Regions from separate parts of the Homo sapiens genome. Here all the other regions are linked to region 3. Evidence: promoter capture Hi-C in 16 types of primary human blood cells and fetal thymus (Javierre and others, 2016). All regions are on one chromosome and are shown on one strand. The core of a region is centred on a gene start or on the middle of the fragment in contact, and the rest is flanking DNA. Distances in the headings are between cores, read along the strand shown.

Region 1 (4,537 bases), core at 506-3,005, 3.2 Mb before region 3:
TAGCAGGATAAGTAAGCTTTGGCTTCATACAGAACTGGGTTAGAATCCCAGCTCAGCTACCTACAAGACAGATGACTCAAAGGCAAGTGGCTCAAGTGGCTTTGTCTCTCTGAGCCTCAGTTCCTTTTCCGTATGAAGGAGTAAAGAGTGTTTAACCCCTACAGGGCTCCTCAGGAGATCTATGATCTTATGACACACAGCTGTTGCTCAATAAATATCATCCTCCGTCTACAACCCCCACACTTCCTTCCTCCCACATCTCTTCCTTGGACACTGTGCTACCGATTCTAGCTCATGTGCTCTGTTCTTTCTTAACCATTAGCCTTCTGGCTTTTCCTGTCAGAACATTAAGATATTTTTGCTCTTCTTGGGGCCGTTTTCTAAAAGTTTCAGTTTATGAAATTGTAAGGTCATTTCTTGGGGGAATTTGTTAGCATCACAGTGGACCGTAAACAGACAAACGGAGCCACACCTAGTGTAGCAGAAAGCAGTCAGTGACTCCACGCTTCCAGACTGGGCTGGGAGAGGCCTTTCTGTCATGCTGCCTCCTCTGAAAAAGTTTATTTTGGTCAAAGGCAGATCTCAATGCCTGACACAGAATGATGGATGGAGGATTCTTTTGTTCCTGCATCCAGGAAATGGTTATTAGCTGCCACCTGTGCCAGACCCTAATCTGGACACTGTGGATACAGAGATGCATAGATCCAGTACCTAACAGAGGGGCTGAATTATTTTAGGTGCTTGGTAAACATTTGTTTGGTGAAGAAATGAGTGAAGATTTTCTACTTTCAGGCTGCTTGCGGAAAAGTCAGAGGGTCAGAAAACTGTGCACTGGGAGGGCAATGTGTTAAGGTCAGTGAAGATCTATGCAAACATTTGCAAAAAGACAGAAGGACAAGACAGGCAGAGGCAGCTTTATAACAACAAAATAATGGGACTGAGTCTTAGTTGATAAGTAGGCTTTGGAAGCTTAGAACATGGATGGAAGAAGATCCCAGACAAGGGGAAATAGCATGTATACAAAACAGAAGAGCAAACAAATACCATGGAAGCATACAAACTAGGTTGTTGACATGACTTAGCTTGCAATGGTCATGGTTTGCTGATGTACATGGACCATGGCCTTGGGACAGGAAAGGGACAGTTTCTGTTTCAAACTAAAACAGAAAATAAGAATAACAGGAAAATCTGCATTAAGATTTTTAAAGCAAAACCAAAGTGCAAAGAAATATAGATTTATCTGACATTTATATGTGTTTAGTTCACTTTCTATCTTCTACCTCTGCATATAAGGTAATAATAGAGGGAGGACTGTTTGAGTTCAGAAGTTCGAGACTAGCCTAGATAACATAATGAGACCCTATCCCTATAAAAAATGTCAAAAATTAGGCAGGTGTGGTGGTTCACATCTGTAGTCCCAGCTATGGAGGGAGGCTGAGGCAGGAGGATTGCTTGAACTTGAGAGGTCAAAGCTGCAGTGAGCCATGATTACACCACTGTACTCCAGCCTGGGTGACAGAGCAAGACCTTGTCTCAAAAATAAAGAAATAATAAATAAGTGATAATAATGCAACCATAATATACAATGTATTTCTCAACCTTATATAGTTGTTTTTAAATGTCTTCATAAGATACATGAGGATTTGGTAGAACTTTTTTTTTAATTGATGAGGACCCAGTGATGCAGAGAGGTTGTGGGACTTACCGAAGGTCACAGGATGAGGTTGATTTGGTCCTGAGACTGGACCTAGAATCACCTGACTACCAGCTTGAAATCTTCCTACATGCCCCTCTCCATTGCTACAATGAACTGGTGACAGATAAATCACATGTCATGATGGTCATTCTTGGTTCATGACACTTGTTTCCATATTTGTCTTATTTTTTTTTTACTCCCTCTATTCCCCAACCACCCCATAGAAACTAGTTAGATTTTCTAGGGATCCGAAGTATCTTGAACTTCCAAGAACCATTCATATCATATTATTCTAAAGAAACAGATTATACTAATTGAGAATTTACAGAAAATTTGAGGAGGGAACTGCTGGCAGAGATGAGGGCAGGGCAAGGGATGTTGCTGACTCCTAGGGACCCAGAAACAGCAGGTAGTGTGACTCAGAGGCCCAGAGGGACCAGGGGAAGAAATGATGTCAAGGAGACCTAGTGAGAGATTTAGGTCTTGGTTTGTGTCTTTTGTGAGAACTTCGCAAGGTCTGTTCCTTCATATCCCCATGAACATCCCTTCTCTTCTGAACTTAGCACTGAGTATTGACAATGGGCACTGAGTAATCTTCTGGGCTTGGAATCTAGAATATGGTTTGCAGTGAATGAATAAGCATTAGTTGAATGAATACATAGCTTATGTACTCATCCAGGCAACGGTTGTACTATAGGAAAGGCAAGTCATCTTAGAGCCATGAATGAGATATTTTGTAATGCACAATAACCTAAACCTTAATAAAGCAACAAATTACCTAGCAATATCGAGTTCTACCTTAATTAGCTGCAACATTATCTCATTGGCTCTTCATAACAAGCTTCTGAGGCTGTTTCCGTTTGTCATACGAGTTAACTCATTCCAGAGGTATTAAGTGGCTTGAGCAAGATCACCTGCCGTCTTGGCCTCAAGCTTGACTGTGGTTCAGCTGGCTGAATAAGCTCAGGATCATGGCCTCCTACACAAAACTGTTGGGGCCATGTCTGTTTTGGGCCAAATTCAATTTCGATTTTGGAAAGGTAATATGCAAAATATACACATAATGACATTTATGATAGTATCTGGGGCAACACCCCTAATCAAGCACATTAATCCTTAGGCGACAAAAATATGTAAATTTTCAACACACAATGGAATAACCAAAGACTGCAAATAGCACAAGTCAGGTTTTGCTGCCAACTGAGTTGAGATCAACACTTGTTTTTAAGGGCTGAGGATTTTGAAATTACGAATAAGGCGTGGCTCGGCCTTGGCCATGTTCTCCAGGAAATGGCAAACAAAATTTCTTCCCTTTTTCAATTTCTCCCTCCTTTTTCCTTTTCCATCAAAGTCCAGCATGGCAGTACAACGAGAACAGAAGCAAACACAACTCCTAGCTCAGGTTCAGTGCTGTGCTGGGCTCTGTGCCAAGCACTCTCTCTGCATAATCTCATAGAGTGAGCACAACATCTGCAGACCTGGCAGCTCCTGTCCTGTTCCCCTTGTAGGTGAGGAAACTAGAGCATAGGAACTCATCACTTTCCTAAGTTAACAGTTAATAGGTGTTGAAACCAGAACTTAAATCCAGGCCTCTGACACCCACGTCCACACTGTTAACTATGCTTGAAGGCAAAGGTCTTATCTCGGTCCCCTTTAGGCTCCTCCTCCCACATCCAGAAGGATGATGTGCAAAATGTAGGTACTTGGCAAATTATTGGTGAATTGATAAATTAATTTATGGGTGATTTGGGATCTAAATTGAAATGTGGGTGCATGCGCAAATCTGGGGTATAGTTAGGATGAGGGTCTGATGTGGTTTGAAGAAAGCATGGTAGATTTGGACAATGCTCACATGGGGAGGGCCATAGTGTTATAATCACATTTAGAGCCATGGTCAAGGTTGGTCCGGGAGTGGTCGTCCTTGAAAGGTATATAATCTGAGTTGGTGGCTGTGGTCCCTGAATATTGGGCTGAGTGGGATGATGGGCTGCCTGGGTAGACTATAGCATGGCCCATGGAGGCCAGGTGGCAGGAGAAGCCTGCAGTCAGGATTCTAGAAGAAGCATGATTCATTTTGTACCCTAGCCCTCTCCTTCCTGGCACTGACCTCCTTGATCTTATTTTTCTCTCTTTCTAGGGGGATCGAGGAGCTCCTGGGATCCCTGGTTCTCCTGGCAGCCGTGGTGACCCAGGCATTGGGGTTGCTGGCCCTCCTGTAAGTCTTTATTTATCCAGCTCTTACTTGCTTTCAGGACATACAGCCATTTCCTGTTGGACCTGCCTGCAGAAACACTCTTTTCTTTCTTTCTTTCTTCCTTTCTTTCTTTCTTTCTTTCTTTCTTTCTTTCTTTCTTTCTTTTTCTTTCTTTTTTTTTTTGAGATGGAGTCTCGCAGTGTTGCCCAGGCTGGAGTGCAGTGGTGCAATCTCAGCTCACTGCAACCTCCGCCTCCCAGGTTCAAGTGATTCTCCTGCCTCAGCCTCCCGAGTAACGGAGATTACAGGTGCCTGCCACCACGCCTGGCTAATTTTTTGTATTTTTAGTAGAGATGGGGTTTCACTGTGTTGGCCAGGCTCGTCTTGAACTCCTGACCTTGTGATCCACCCACCTCAACCTCCTAAAGTGCTGGGATTACAGACGTGAGCCACCGCTAGTTCTAATGAATAATTCACATCAGTCTACTAGGTGTTAGTTTACAAACTCACTAGGGGTGATAGCTTTAAGAGTTGCTAAAACTTTGAGTTATAGGGATCTTAAGAATCAATGAAGTGTGTTCCCGTTCAGGTTGAGGATTGCTATCAATATCTTCGGCCTCCACCTGAATGCCTCTAGAAATAGAAGG
Region 2 (4,246 bases), core at 792-3,291, 3.6 Mb after region 3:
CCTCACACTGGTACCCCCAATCAATCCACAGCACATTTTTATTCAGTCATAAAAAATGTACCATGACAAATATTAACAATGACAGATAAAACAAACATTTCACTTGTCTTCCAGTCAGGGTGTGAAATCTGCATTCTTAACTATGTAAACTCCACCATGGCCCATCCTAAAATCATTTTGCAGAATGAACTCAACATTTGAAAAGAAACGAGTTTACTATATCCACTCTGTGAAGCTAGATAACCCTAGAACATAACTAAAAATTTTATTTCACAGGATAATTCTGGCATGTTACCAATAAATTCTACTTGAAGCCTCAACTTTCAATAGGTGCTTACCTCCTCCCCTTTGGTTTCTCAGAAAATAAAAGATTAGCATAGTGCTAGTCTCAGATATTCACTGAATAACGTGAACATGAATTTAGAAGTACTAAACTGGCAATAACAATGAAGATGATTGTAAATGATATTCCTCCAGCCAAAAGGAATAAAACAGAAATTTAAACTGGACATATTTACTGGATGCGAAGTCCAAGAACGTGAGTTAAGGACACACAGTAGTGTGTGAAGAAAACAAAATCCACAGTACCCACACATGTATGAGGAGTTAAAAGTAATCTCTACATCAGGACTATGTAAAGATTTGCCACAGGAAAATCTTTAAATCTCAAAAAGATATTTAAATATCTTTAATATCAATTTAAATTTAATATCCTTAAATATCAGGAAAATATCAATCTTTATAATATCAAGAAATAACTCATCTTTTCCCACCACTAGACGAAACGTGCATTGGAGACTGACCTGGAAATTCAGCGTCCCAGATGGCTACAAAACAAGGACAACTAGAAGTAGTTATGAATTCTAGGAAATATATTCACAAGTGTGTAAAGATTCTATAGTATTGAACACTTAGTCAAAGGAGTCCTACTTGAATTCTCAAATCAATGACAAAGTTGCTTCCTCTCTACCCAAGATCAGGAGCTTCCCTAGTTTGCACATATCCACATTGACCAGTGGCTATAAAGTCACACTGCGATTATCTGGGTCATTTTAAAATAGGTCATTAGCAGTACTTGTAGTATCGCGTCTGTCTAAAAATCCTCCAACACCGAGTGACTTTTAAACTTTGGGGTGCCTTGGTAACCCCAGGGACGCTTATTAGACATGCAGACTCCGGGGCCCAAGCTCCAGACTAATTCCATGGGAATAGGGCGGGTCCCGAAACCGGCATTTTTAATCATCTGCCCGGGTGAATCCGAAGTGTGGTCCAAAAGCCACAGTCGAGGTGCCTCTGCCTAACAAGCTCCACAGAAAGCTCCGACTTCAGCCGCCCCGACGGCGATACGGACGCCGAGTTAGGCTGTCGGGGGTCTGTCTGGCGGCCGCGGGAAGGGACTCGGGGCCGGCGCGTCCACTAGCGACGTCCGGCCCGAGGTGAGAAGGGACTGACAATGGTACCGCAGTTATTTTCAATATTTCCATAAAGTCCCACGAAGCCGTGTGGCCGTGGGAAAAGGGCTTTAACTTTGAAATCCCACGGGTCAGGTTACCACCAGCTCTGCCGCCTCCTAACAGCGCGTCCCCGCAGTTCCCTTAACGTTCGGGCCTCAGTTTCCCGATCCGTGCAACGGGCTCACGCCATCTCCGGAAGGCTAAGCCGAAACGAAACTAACTCCGCCGCTCGCAGACACTTCCTGGCTCTGCTCAGCGCGGCCCAGCCTCCCCAGCCGCCCGGGAGGAGTACCCGGCCCAAGCGCGTCGCGCAGGCAGTCGCCTCCCAACGCCCCCGGCCCTCGGCCGGCCACTCACGGGTAGGCATGGCGATCTCGACCGCGCTCGCCGCCGCACCGAGGCTCAGCGGGGCCGCGCAGGGAGCGCCGACGGCACCATGACGGCCGTTGCTGGGCCGCGGAGGCCGGAACGAGGCGAAGGGCGAAGGGCGAAGGGTGGAGGGAGCGGACGCGGACCCCGCGGTCACGCAACCAAGCGGGCGACAGCTACCGCCGCCAGCCCACTCCTCGCCGGGCGGCGCGACGGACGACCCACGCCCGTTACGTCAGCGCGCCGCCGCCGTCCCGGCCCCGCCCCCGCGGATGGCCGGGCTCGGCCCAGGATCCCTTGTCGAGCGGGTGGAATGGGTGGCTGGGGACAGCCACGTAGAACAACTTCGGGTGCCTTCTATTTTCCAAGCCTGGTGACCTGCGTGGCATTCGTTTTCCTTGATCTCTATTTGGAGTGCATCACTTTACGTTTGTGAGGATGATGGCTTTGAGCGCACGGAGTACCTGTGGGCTTTTTCTTTTGCAATCGGTTTAACTTGCAGTGCGTTTTGCATACTCTGAAAGCATGGTTTATTTGAGATGCACTAAGGTCATTTGGGGTGATGGCTGCTCATTTTTTGAGAGGGCAGAAAATGTAATTTCCTTTTGCTCTTGTGACTTTCAGAGCGACCTTATCCCTCAGGAGTTAGTCTCCTCTGGAGAGGGCAGCTCTGTGCACTTGGCTGAGCTACTCTTCTTGACTCTGGGTGTCATTAATAATTGAGGTATCTAATAGTCACCAAGCTGAGCAGACACCGGGAGCCAGAGAGCTGAGCAACGCACCTACACTATGCTAGGCGCCGTGGGCTGCGGACAGCCCATATGGAGATATAAAAGCCAACCGCAGAGGTTTAACACAGCCTTCCTCAAAGTGGGTCAAAGTGGTCCAGGATCCTTTTGTGCTTGGATCCCCTGGGGACTTGTTGAAAAGCAGATTCCTAGGTGCTGAGCCAAATCTACGAACACATATACAGATGATTTAAATACAATGATAATACTGAGAACCTTTGTCCTAAAAAGTAGGGCTAACCTTCTGATTAAGAAATGATATTGTGCAGTACTGGGAGGAGAAGATGAAGAACATGAAGATCAGAGCTAGGAAGCGCTGAGGAGAAATTAGTCTTGGCTTGAGGTGGACTTGGAAGAAAGCAGAATTTGAATTAGCAAAGCCTAGGGGAGTCCTAAAAGAGGCTGGGGAGAGGATGAAGGGTAATTTAGAGTGAGTCATGGCAGCTGGGGAGAGGAGAGTGTGTACTGTACCTATAAAAGAGACTGTCCAGCTGGGAACGGTGGCTCACGCCTGTAATCCTAACACTTTGGGAGACCGAGGTGGGCGGTGGGCAGATCACCTGAGGTCAGGAGTTCGAGATCAGCCTGGCCAACATGGCGAAACCCTGTCTGTACTGAAAATGCAAAAATTAGGCGGGGGTGGTGGCACATGCCTATATTCTCACTCAGCTACTTGGGAAGCTGAGGAAGGAGAATCGCTTGAACCCAGGAGACGGAGTTTGCAGTGAGCCGAGATCGGGCCACTGGACTCTAGCCTGGGCTACAGAGCAAGACTCCATCTCAAAAAAAAAAAAAAAAAAAGAGAGACTGTCCCTTGCTAACAGTAAAGACCAAACTACCTAGTGCTTATTCATGTTTTAATGCCCTGTTGCATATTTTATCACCTATAAAATCTTTCATGCTTCCAGTTTTCTCCCTAAGACTTTGGCATTATCTTGATTCCTCTCTGCTACAGCACTTTTCTCACTGCATCCTAAATAAACTGTCATGAGTGCTTGTGTTTTACCATGGGCCTATTTGCTTTTCAGAAAATGGCAAAAGCCATATTCTGTTCATGTTTATGTATCCTTGGCTGGCACACAGGTGGGGGCCAGAGTATATTAATTCAATATATAAATAAAGGATTTTATTCAAGAGTATGAAAACAAAAACAGGTAAATAAAACTGATAAACAACTTTACATTCAACCTTGGAATTTGTCTTTTAAGAAACTGTTCTGTGATTTTTACAAAAAGCATAACAGTAACATTAAATTATCAGAAGCAGGGCCTTGCAGGGGGAATGGTGTGGCAGAGAAACTGTGGAGGTAGGCAGCCAAATCGGAAGGCCCCAATACAGGAGAGAGTGTTAGGTGCTCAGTCTTGGTGGTGGCTGTGGAAAAAGAAAGAACTGAATCTTACTTTGGAAAAGAATCCCTGGATTTGTTGGCTGCTGACTTGGGAGCAATAGAGAGGCATCTGTTAGTTATGTAACTCCAAGGTTGGAACAAGGAAAGTGGTGGTGCTGGAGAGCAGTAGACCAGTCAGGAAGAAATGCTGTTTTAGGGAAGGGGTGTGAAGAAAGGTGTGAGTTTCTCCTTGACATATTGAGCTTGAGGTGGTATCAGAGGGAGACATCCGAGTGAATGAATCTGAA
Region 3 (4,461 bases), core at 649-3,148:
AATGAGGGAGCTCCATAAGTCTATTTCTGTTCAACAATTCAAATATTCTTAAATTCTTGGAGACAGTAAAGAGTCTCTCCTCCACCATCGGTCAACCACACACACACTCTACTCTGAAGAACTGGTTGAAACAGGCAAAAACTGGAGGTCACTGTTTTAAAATATAGGTATCTATATACAAATAGAATATGTCTGCCTCATCTTTCACTTCCAACAATAAAAAAGCCAGGGCGAGCACTAAGAGCAGCAGATCCGATTCATCTAGGGAACCACAGACTGTCAGTGCACAGTAATTCCTGCAAAAGGTAACAGATCTGACCAGATCATGTTGCTGCCATTTCCCAGAGAAAAGACAGACCAGTGGCACCCACACCCATCTTCATCTGAAACACATATTCCAGGAAAAGTAGGAGACTGCTCCCAGGAAGGAAGGCTTAATTTACCGTGCATGCCAGCAGATGATTCAGGAAGCCACAGGAGGAAAAAGCCAGGGGAACACTGTCCCGGGTAGGCGTGCCTCCAGAAATCTCTGTATCCCTGACCCGCAGTACTTCCTAGGATCTTTCACACCCTGAGCTGGCTGGAGTCGTGTGAAAATGGCAAGGACTCCCTTCACCACTATTCCGAACCTCAAGCCAGCCACCAATGAGGGTCACCCAACCCAACGCCCTCCGGAACGGTGCTCTTTTGCCGGCCTCTTCTCCCCTACTGACTTCTCCAAGGGCCAGCCTGCAAGGCTTGGCATGGGCTGCCCATCCCCTGGGAGGGCTGACTGCCCCGCCAGGGCTGTTGGAGCCTGGACACAGGAGAGACAAAGGGCTGGGAGGGGGAACTGGGCTCCTCCCCTGGGACCACGGAGCTCCTCTCCTCTCAGGTGCTGGGGTCTGACCCCAACCCTCTTCCAAGGTCCCCAAACTTCGCTAACAATGCAAGCACCTGTTCCCTTCACCTCTTCTGCATTTGAGTCCCTCAAGTCCTTCCATTTTCCTCCAGCTTTTTCTCCAGTACCTTAGACAAACCAAACGCCCTACTTCCCCGAGTCCAACACGCTCCCCTTCCATGACATAATTCAACCTCGTTCCCAACGAAGCCCCCAGATGGTCGCTGTCCCCCACCCAGAAGTTTCCCCTGGGTGTGCCCGAGTCCCCAAAGATTTCCTTCAAGTCTCACCCATGCGCCCCAGCCTTCTCCTTCCAAGTCCCCAAAATTCACATCAGGGTCTTCCCCTAGGTGTCCCACAGCCTCCCAGGTCCCCGTGCAAACGACCCCGGGGGCCACCCGGGCCTCCGTCTCCGCCGCGTCCGCTGACAGCAGAGGGCACGGAGGGGCCCCCTGGGCCCCCGCGTTTCCACCCGGCCCCCAACCGCCGCCGGCCGGCAGTTAACGGCCGGCGCCTCACCTTGGTTCACCAGGCGCAGGGCGTGCGTGAAGGAGGGGTCCAGGGAGTCCTTCTCCGCCATCAGCTCGGGCAGGTACTTCTCCTCCATGCTCGCCGGCCGCCGGGCCCGGGATGTGGACTCCAGGCGCACGGGGGGCGGCGCCCGGCAACCCCCGACCCCGCCCGCGCCCCCAGCGGCGGGGACCCGGGGGCCAGACGCGGCAGCAGCGGCCAAGCCGGGCGGTCGGCCGGAAGGCGGCGGCGGCGGCACGGGGGCGGGAACCGACCGCTCAGCCCCGATCCCCGGTGGCCGCCGAGTACCCAGCGCCGGCGGCCCCCGCGCTCCGGGCGCGGGCCGAGGAGGAGCGGGCGCGGGCGGCGCGGTTAGGCGGGCCCTCGGGCCGAGCGGGCTGCGGCGCCCCTGAGGCAGTCCACGGCGATCCCCGCCAGTCCCGCCAGCACCTGCCAGCACCCGAGCCACAGCTGCGACCTGCACGCCGCGCGCCGCCCCGCGCACTCTGAGCCACCGCGCCGAGCGCCCAGCGCCTGCCGCCGGCCCCGCCCCGCCCGGCTCCGCCCCGCCCCGCCCCGCGCCCGCCGCCCCGCCCTGCCGCGCCGCGCCTGCGCACTGGCGCCCACCGCCCCGCCGCCCGCCGCCTCCTGGGGCCGCTCTCCACTGCGAGTCCGCCGGGACTAACCGGGCGTTTGCGAGAGGGGGTGCGTCCAAGGGCCCCTCCCGCGTGTCCGGCGCCCACCTTTGGCCCTGAGGGCCGAGTGGGGAGCCCCACGACGCTATTACAGCCTTTCAGATGCACGGACTGGGAAACTGGGGCTCAGAGAAGTCAAGTGGCTCGCCCAAGGTCACCCAGCGAGTGATCCTGGGAAGAGGGGACAAGGGCCGAGCTGGAGCTGGGAAGGGCGCCCCAGTTCGCCCCAGTCGCGCTCTGAGGAATAGCAGCGGGACCGCCCTGCTCTCTAAAGCTTCCTGGACTTCTCTAAGTTATGTCGCGTTGCTGTCCCCTCGTACTTATAAGAGAGTAAGGCAGGGGCGCCGTCCTTTCTCCGCGCCTGAGCTCAGAGCGCCAACCTCCTGAGATCCGCCAGCTCAGAGGTCGGTTACATAAAAGCGCGTGCCCTTCTGGGCGTCTTTGTCATCCCGACTTGCTCCTGGGTTGTCATTCTCTTAGGTCATAAACCGGCTGTGCCTGGACACAGCTGAGTGAGCCGCGTCTGAGCTCATCCGCTCCTGGGGAGAGGCCCTGGGACGCCCCGCCTGTCGGTGGCAATGCTCTCTGTCCCCTTCCGCCCACCCCCAACCCCCAGCAAATGCTCTCCAAGGCCATTTCAGATTTCCCGAGGCATGTGGAATAAACGTCCCCCAGGAAGGCGAAGGACTCCAGTCCTTGCCCTGCCATTTTTCCTGCCTTCAAACAGCCAGCTCAAGTCCCGGCCTCAATGTCACCTTCCCTGGACAGCCTCTCAGGACCTCCCTGGCAAAGCAAGTCACAAGTCCCTTCTCTGTGTCCCCCCAGCTTGGTCAGAGGTCATTCACAGACAGCTGTAATTCTGTTTTCAGTAGACCATGAGCATCAGGGACAGAGTTTGAGTTTTGTTTTTGAGGGGGAAGGTCACCAGTGTGTAGTACAGGGGGCAGGGATGGAGGGTACTGGAAATGTCTCTTGGAGGAATAAGTCAGTGGCATACCACTCTCAGCCAATAGCCTGAGGACAATCGCCACAGTCCCCCAGGCAGCCCCCCCGCACTCCCAATGCAAATGGAGGCAGCTTTACAAACCCGAGGGGAGTGGGAGGTGGTAGAAATCTTGGAAGCTCTAAGTCCCAGACCCGAGTACTCAACTGCCCTCACTCTCAAGGCTCCACTCCTCCCCCGGCTAAGGTGTCATTTCAGAGTCCCCAGTAAGAGTCTTCTTCATGGCTCTCTTCAGTCTCAACTTGCAAGAAGCAGAAAAATGGCACAGTTAAAAGCAAAGCCTCTGGGGTTAAACAGCCTGGATTTGGAATCATGGATCTGCTGCTCACTAGCTGTGACCTTGGGCAAGTTTCTTCACCTCAGGGTCCTCATCCGTCAAGTGGAGATGACAACCAAACTTATTTCATAAGAAGTTCATGAGAATAAATATGTTAACTCATAATGAAATACCCAAAACAGCACTCTGCCTATCGGAAATGCTGAGCTGATCTTTGCTTTGGGTTTTTTCCGGCTGCAAGGCTGTCCTCTGGGCCTTCTGAGCCTCCCTCGCCTTCCCTTCAGCTGTAACTCCAGGGATGCTGGGCAGACACCCATCTGTGGACTCCTCACTGCTGGTCGTGGTGCTTCGCCCCGGCCTGGCCAACTGAGTGAAGGACCTGTGACTGTCGCACCTCTGTTTCTGACCTGGGCCCAGCGTCAGGCTTGTAGGCTGCTTGTGGCTGCTCTTCTCAATCCCAGGTCTATGACTGGCCTCTCAGCCCCAGAAACAAAAAGGGCACTTCCCAAACCACCCTCACCCAGAAGGGCAGGAGTCTGGATGCCTGCATCCTGGCTGCTACCTGCCTCACTATGCCACTTTGTTAATTAACTTAGAGCCTGAGCTTCCCAGTCCACACCCCCAAAACCAGGGGTATGCCAGTAGTCCTGCTGGACAACAGGAGGGACTCATAGGACAATGTCTTTTCCTTTTACAACTGAAGGGAAGCATACACCTCTGGCTTATATTCCTGTGTCACAGAACTTACATTCTATGGTAGGGTTCCCTGACAGCTGCTTGTAAAGGGGGAAAGGGGGACAGAGAATGTTTGGGATGAGGCTAGAAGAGGACAATGGGGCCTGGATGCCCAGCGGCTTCATTGGAACACTTAGACTCTCTCTCTTCTAACAGCTCTTCTCCCTCTGTGTCTTCCATTCAGACCATCTGCCCCGGTGACAGTCCAGACCTTGAGTAATCACTATTTTTATTAAGTGCCAGCCCTATGTTTATGACTTAGGATTCACTATGGTTCTCGCAACACCCTGTAAGGAAAATTCTATTGATCACCACTTACAAAGAAGGAAACTGAGGCCCGGGACAGTTTAATACCACCTTG

The links. Contacts are between HindIII fragments. The CHiCAGO score rates a contact against its expected background, and 5 or more counts as called.
Region 1: a fragment that was not itself captured here is called in contact with the fragment with the promoter of KHDRBS3 in region 3 in 1 of 17 cell types (neutrophils); the score reaches 6.1 in neutrophils.
Region 2: a contact is called between the fragment with the promoter of EFR3A here and the fragment with the promoter of KHDRBS3 in region 3, in 1 of 17 cell types (fetal thymus). The highest score is 6.6, in fetal thymus.

The regions. Positions count from the first base shown.
Region 1 is chr8:138,675,932-138,680,468 of GRCh38, reverse strand. It overlaps COL22A1 (collagen type XXII alpha 1 chain), which reads left to right. Exons shown (of 65, transcript NM_152888.3): 40 at 793-852; 41 at 3,834-3,911. Among named protein-coding and RNA genes, the nearest start is that of FAM135B, 180 kb to the right of the region's middle. The HindIII fragment of the contact is 1,568 bases long and covers 972-2,539 here.
Region 2 is chr8:131,901,888-131,906,133 of GRCh38, reverse strand. EFR3A (EFR3 homolog A) reads right to left here and starts at 2,041. Exons shown (of 23, transcript NM_015137.6): 1 at 1,812-2,041. The coding sequence starts at 1,821. RefSeq lists an enhancer at 1,045-1,094 and a silencer at 1,665-2,144. The HindIII fragment of the contact is 8,534 bases long and covers 1-4,246 here.
Region 3 is chr8:135,454,893-135,459,353 of GRCh38, reverse strand. KHDRBS3 (KH RNA binding domain containing, signal transduction associated 3) reads right to left here and starts at 1,898. Exons shown (of 9, transcript NM_006558.3): 1 at 1,400-1,898. The coding sequence starts at 1,487. It overlaps LOC101927872 (a long non-coding RNA gene), which reads left to right and starts at 1,379. Exons shown (of 4, transcript XR_002956731.2): 1 at 1,379-1,472. RefSeq lists a silencer at 1,727-2,026. The HindIII fragment of the contact is 3,136 bases long and covers 1-2,361 here.